Linked DNA regions of Homo sapiens: region 1 is linked to region 2. Evidence: promoter capture Hi-C in human tissues and cell types (Jung and others, 2019). All regions are on one chromosome and are shown on one strand. The core of a region is centred on a gene start or on the middle of the fragment in contact, and the rest is flanking DNA. Distances in the headings are between cores, read along the strand shown.

Region 1 (3,237 bases), core at 389-2,888, 64 kb before region 2:
GCGAGATCTCCTTGTCTTTTCCCTGACCTACTTGCCTGGGACTTTGTCCCAGGCGGCATCCCCCTGGTCTGTCCACCTTCAGGCCTTGTGTCTCACCGCCTGTGCTGAATAAGATTGAAATAGAGCCTAAAAATAGTTTAATGGCCCCTGCATTGCAGCCTGCACTTCTCTGTTCTTGGCTGGAAGGCAGCCAAACTGACTCAGCACAAAAGCTCATCTCCAGAAGCCGGGACAAGATTTCAAAGAGGGCTTGTGAGGGCTGGGAAGAGGCTTTGCTTCTTAGACAGGGGATATCAGAGCCTGTCACCCTCCAGAAGAGATTTTCCCTTTCCAGAGAAGCAGACTGAACAAAAGAATCCCTTGGCTTTAAGGAGGATTTTAAAACAAGCGAGAAGCCCAGGTCAATCCCTCCCCTGTGAGCTACTTAGCCATTCATGCCAAGGGTGGGCAGATTAGGGGGAAAGGGACTGGCTTGGGAGGACCTAGAAGCTTCCTCCTCAGCTGGAATTGTCCACGGACTTTTGGCAGATTATACTCTGGGGCATATCGCAGACCGCAGCCCATCTGTCGCTCTCTTGTACCTGGGACTCAGCCTGTGTTCCTTGCTTTTTTTTTTTTCCCCTTTACAATTTTTTTAAAACATTTTTTTTTCTTTTGTAGAGACAAGGTCTTGCTATGTTGCCCAGGCTAGTCTTGAACTCCTGGCCTCAAGCAATCTTCCCACCTCGGCCTCCCAAAGTGCTAGGATTACAGGCGTGAACCCACCATGTCAGGCCTGTTCCTTGCCTTTTTAAAGCTGCCGTCCACATTCCTGATTTATTGGTATCTTCTAGTTTCTCCCTTATTTTCTTCCTAGCTTATCCCTTACTATTTTCTCTGCAAATAACTCCACAGACTCTTTTCATAAACTTAAGGGTGTTCTTGCTGATCACTCCGCAAAGCTAAGCAAAACTCTATCCCTAGGAAGGAGCAGGGCTGCCAGACTTCCAAAGGAACTTTGTCCCTGTCGGTGTAGCCGACTCTGTCCTTTCTATGGCGTTCAGCAGTGTCTCTGATGAGAATAGGCATTAAGCATCTATTTTGGGTCAGGCCCTGTGCTAATCACACTTTTACATTCACTGTCCTATTTAAATGAAACTTAGTGTATAAGTCTTTTGCCTCCTTGGTTAAATTTATCCCTAGGTATTTTATTATTTTTGATACTATTATAAATAGAATTATTTTCTTAATTTCTTTTTCTGATTGTTCATTGTTGGTGAGTAGACATACAATTGTTCTTTGTGTGTTGACTTTGTCCCCTGCTGCTTTACTGAATTCATTTATTAACTCTAGTAATTAAAAAAAACTTTTCTGCCAGTCTGGGCAATATAGTGAAGCCCTGTCTATACAAAAATAAGATTTAAAAATTAGCCAGGCATGGTGGCGCATAATTGTAGTCCCAGCTACTCAGAAGGCAAAGGCAGGAGGATCACATGAGCCCAGAAGTTGGAAGCTACAGTGAGCTATGATCACACAGGTGCACTCCAGTCTTGGGGACAAAGTGAGACCTTGGTCTCTAAATAAATAAATAAATAAAAGGGTTTACTGTGGATTATTTGGGATTTTCTATATATGTGATAATGTCATCTGCAAATAGAGATCGTTCTATTTCTTCCTTTCCAATTTGGATGCCTTTTCTTTTTCTTGCCTAATTTCTCTGGCTAGGACTGCCAGTACTGTGTTGAATACAACTGTGAAAGTGGGCATCTCTGTCTTGTTCCTGATCTTAGGGGAAAAGCTTTCAGCTTTTCACCATTGGTTTTGTGTTTTTTGTTTTAGATACAGGGTTTTGCTCTGTCACCCAGGCTGGAGTGCAGTGGTGCAATCAAAGCTCACTGCAGCCTTCAACTCCAGGGCTCAAGCAATTCTCCCACCTCAGCCTCCCATGTACCTGGAAATACAGGTGTGAGCCATCGTGCCCAGCTCCCCTTCATTCTTTAAGGCAAGGTAGTGTACTACATTAATTGATTTTCTTTCCTTTTTTTTTTTTTGAGACGGATTCTCGCTCTTTCACCCAGGCTGGACTCAGTGGCGCTATCTCGGCTCACTGCACGCTCCGCCTCCCGGGTTCACTCCATTCTCCTGCCTCAGCCTCCCGAGTAGCTGGGACTACAGACGCCCGCTACCATGCCCGGCTAATTTTTTGTATTTTCAATAGAGACAGTTTCACCGTGTTAGCCAGGATGGTCTCGATCTCCTGACCTCATGATCCACCTGCCTCAGCCTCCCAAAGTGCTGGGATTACAGGCGTGAGCCACTGCGCCCAGCCGATTTTCTTTTCTTTTCTTTTCTTTTTTTTTTTTTGAGACAGAGTCTCACTCTGTCGCCCAAGCTGGAGTGCAGTGGTGCAGTCTTGGCTCACTGCAACCTCTGCCTCCCAGGTTCAAGCGATTCTCCTGCTTCAGCCTCCCGAGTAACTGGGACTAGAAGTACTCGCCCCACCATGCCTGGCTAATTTTTGCTTGCTATTTATTTATTTATTTTATTTATTTATTTTTTTTGAGATGAAGTCTCCCACTGTCGCCAGGCTGGATTGTGCAGTGGCACAAACTCAGCTCACTGCAACCTCCGTCTCCCGGGTTCAAGCGATTCTCCTGCCTCAGCCCCCCGAGTAGCTGGGATTACAGGCGCGTGCCACCACACCCAGCTAATTTTTGTATTTTTAGTAGAGATGGGGTTTCCCCATGTTGGCCAGGATGGTCTTGACCTTGTGATCCGCCCACCTTGGCCTCCCAAAGTGCTGGGATTACAGGCATGAGCCACTGCGCCCAGACTGAATTTTTTTTTTTTTTTTTTGAGACAGTTTCACTCTTGTTGTCCAGGCTAGAGTGTAATGGAGTGACCTTGGCTCACTGCAACCTCCGCCTCCTAGGTTCAAGCGATTCTTCTGCCTCAGCCTCCCAAGTAGTTGGGATTACAGGCACGTGCCACCATGCCTGGCTAATTTTTGTATTTTTAGTAGAGACGGGGTTTCACCGTGTTGGCCAGGCTGGTCTTGATCTCCTGACCTTGTGATCCACCTGCCTTGGCCTCCCGAAGTTCTGGGATTACAAGTGTGAGCCACCCCACTTGGCCAGATTTTCTCATTTTTCTTGAGTCAGTTTCAGTAGTTTTTATATTTCTAGGAATTTATGCATTTAATCTAAATTATTGAATTAGTGGACATACGGTTGTTCACAGTATTGCCTTATAATTCCT
Region 2 (3,417 bases), core at 384-2,883:
ATCTGTCCTCCATATTTCAGCAGAGACACAGTCAGGTATGGGTAGGTGGATGAGTAGAGATCATGGGTGTCAGGGCAGAAGCCACCACCATTTATAGGTGTAATTCTTTGCCCAGGCTGACCATAACCTCTTCATTTAAATGTCCCTATTCCCCAGAGTTATGGAGAGTGATAGTATTTTCTGTAGCCAGGACCCCTGTTGAAGTCCATGGCACACCGATGAGGAGACCAGCGTCTGCAACTCGCCCCACTCACAGAAACAAACACCATAGGTGCTCCATTCCAAACTCTTCCCAACCCTGGGGTGAGGTTGTTTGGTACAGTGGGTGCCAATACTCACTGTGCATTAGAATTACCAGGCCCATTTAAATGTCAGAGTCCTGGGAACCTTTGCTAGAGAGAAATTCAAATTAAGTTGCTCTGTGTTTTTGCTACTCAGCAAAGTCCCCAAGCCAGCGGGATCAATCCTGAGACTTCCCAGTTCAGCATCTGCATTTTAACAAGATCCCCAGGTAATCTGAGCACACTAAGTTTAGAGAATCCCTTGTCTAACCCATGACATAGACATCAGGTTTTTTTTTTTGAGACGGAGTCTCACTCTGTCACCCAGGCTGGAGTGCAGTGGTGCAATCTTGGCTCACTGCAAGCTCCGCCCCCCCCAGGTTAACGCCATTCTCCTGCCTCAACCCCCAAGTAGCTGGGACTACAGGCACCCACCACCAAGCCTGGCTAATTTTTTGTATTTTTAGTAGAGACAGGGTTTCACCGTGTTATCCAGGATGGTCCCGATCTCCTGACCTCGTGATCCACCCGCCTCGGCCTCCCAAAGTGCTGACATTACAGGCATGAGCCACCATGCCCAGCCAGCCTTTTTTTTGGAGATCACCAGGTGATTCTGTATGTTGTCAGGGCTGAGAATCTGATGATGAAGAAGCATCTCAATTTTAGGTGCCAGACAGCAGCTAATCCCCATATGGAATGAGGGGCCAGTTGCACAGATGATTTTTCCTGGTCTGGTCGTAGGAAGGGGGCAGTGTATACAGATCCCTCACCTTGGAACTTCCGCATCCTTGGGTTCATCTGCAGAATCTTCTTCAGCTTGGGCTCCAGTTCCTTGATGTGGGAAGCCAGCCTCTCTAGCTGCCAACTGGGCCTGATTTTGTTCTTCTGAGAGACCATGGAACAGCAACAGCAAAGTAGATCCTCCCCATGGGGCTCCTTCTGCAGTGAATTGATGCACTTGAAGCAGACAGCGCATCCACACTCCAGGGACATTGGTTTCTCTAGATAGTCTGAGCAGACGGGACAGCTGCTTGCTTCTTGGAAGAGTGCAGCCATGTCCACTGCCAGGGGAAAAGTGCACAAGGGAAGAAAATTTCCGTGAGGTGAAAGCCTGTTAGTTGTGACAAGTGACAACCTTTTCATGCATAAAGGTATTGTGTCCCAGCTTTGTCACTTCTAGAACAAGACCATGAGTACAAACACTCAAGCACATCCCCCCACCCCCCGTCTTCAGAGATTTGAAGTTCTATTGGGAAAGAAAGTCACGAATCATCACTGTGCTCTGAACTGAGGTGGAGGAAGGGTCCATTCTACTGGTGACCCAGCAACTGAGCCTGAGCCAGTGACACGGCAGCACCCATGTGAGGAACAGCGAGCTGGGGTCATTTCACCTCCTCCTAGGGGAACCCCAGCAAGAGATTGATTGATGAACATAAGAATTAGGGGCTGGGAGGCCGGGCGTGGTGGCTCAGGCCTATAATCCCAGCACTTTGGGAGGCTGACGTGAGTGGATCATCTGAGGTCGTCAAAAGTTCGAGACCAGCCTGATGGGTGAAACCCCATCTCTACTGAAAATACAAAAGAATTAGCCAGGCGTGGTGGCACACGCCTGTAATCCCAGATACTTGGGAGGCTGAGGCAGGAGAATTGCTTGAACCTGGGAGGCAAAGGTTGCAGTGAGCCAAGATCCAGCCATTGCACTCCGGCCTGGACAACAGAGTGAGACACCATCTCAAAAAAAAAAAAAAAAAAAAAGAGAGGGACTGGATGCAGTAGCTCACATCTGTAATCCCAGCACTTTGCGAGGCCAAGGCTGGAAGATCCCTTGAGCCAAGGAGTTTGAGATCAGCCTGGGCAACACAGGAAGACCCCCTCTCTACAAATAATAGAAAAATTAGCAGTGAGCAGAGATCACACCAGGTCACTCCAACCTGGACAACAGAGTTAAGACCCTGTCTCACCAAAAAAAAAAAAAAAAAAATCACATCCTTCTCCAGCCTTGGAAATGAATACCAAATTGACTGCCACCACTCCTAGACTGGAGATCTGGGGATCCAGGGTGACTGGTTTTCAACTCTGAGGCAGCACTCAGACAGCCTTTGTTGAATTCATTAATTACGAATTTCTCTCATTCATCCCCCAAGGCATAACCCCCATTTCTAGGCATCTAAGGAGGAAAAACACACACACAGGCATGGGCTCACCTCTTCTGCTGGAAGCTCCTCTGTCCTCCAGCTGCTTCCACTGGGCGCTCAGGTCTTGTGCGGAAGGGGCACATGAGGGCGTTTTATTGGTGAGATTCCCACCTCCCACTGGGTCATGCCCTTCCACACCCTCTAACCTAATGAGGCTTTGATTTAATTATAACAGGGAATTAGGTTTTTACTGGTGATATATCTCCAGTTAATTGTAACTTTAGTAAATCCTTCATCCTGACAGTGTATTTTTCTTTCATATGAAGATAAGATTAAATTGCCTTTATATTAAATTAGGCTTAATGTACTAACTTCAAAAGCTTATTTTAGAGATGTTTCCATCAGTTGTCAGTAAAGATAATTCCTGTAATATGTTGTAGGCTTCAAGCTTTGCTTGGAAACCTGAAGTATTAAGTATGATTGGATTTGCAATTTTACAAAATGGTTTAAATTCATATACATCAGACTCAAAGGTAATAGGGGCATGCATTCCATTGAGGAAATTCTAGGGAATTTTTATTTATTTTCATTGGTTTATTTCTGGTTTTGAAAAAATTTCATAATTCATAGGAAAAAATTGGATAATTACTATTTTGACAAATGACCATTAAGCTTCTTGGACCTTGAGTACTTCACACAGTGTTAAGATAAAAGTCACAATTTAAAAAAAAAAGATGATTTTCTTGTGAAACTTGTGTTCTCAAATAAAAATTGTTACCCGTGAAGTGAGTTGTGCTTTCTTCCATTTGAATCAACCCCGAATCTTTTCATTTTCATGCCTTTCTGTGTAGTGGGATCTTTACTGCTTTGTTTTCAAATTTCAAATAATTTGAATATAATCTTATCATTTTCCCTATTCCCTTTGGCACATATTAAAGGAATTTTCTCTTTTTGCATAATTAAAAATAAAGACCTAATTTTGGTCGGCTTTAAATATGATT

What was found. Contacts are between HindIII fragments. The study calls those that stand out against the background at their distance.
Region 1: a fragment that was not itself captured here is called in contact with the fragment with the promoter of RFPL1 in region 2 in 3 of the 25 tissues and cell types used here (lymphoblastoid cells, neural progenitor cells and spleen).

Annotation. Positions count from the first base shown.
Region 1 is chr22:29,501,128-29,504,364 of GRCh38, reverse strand. No RefSeq gene overlaps it. Among named protein-coding and RNA genes, the nearest start is that of NEFH, 23 kb to the right of the region's middle. The HindIII fragment of the contact is 4,153 bases long and covers 1-3,237 here.
Region 2 is chr22:29,436,799-29,440,215 of GRCh38, reverse strand. It overlaps RFPL1 (ret finger protein like 1), which reads right to left and starts at 1,633. Exons shown (of 2, transcript NM_021026.2): 1 at 1,052-1,633. The coding sequence starts at 1,424. It overlaps RFPL1S (RFPL1 antisense RNA 1), which reads left to right. Exons shown (of 1, transcript NR_002727.2): 1 at 1-3,201. The HindIII fragment of the contact is 25,280 bases long and covers 1-3,417 here.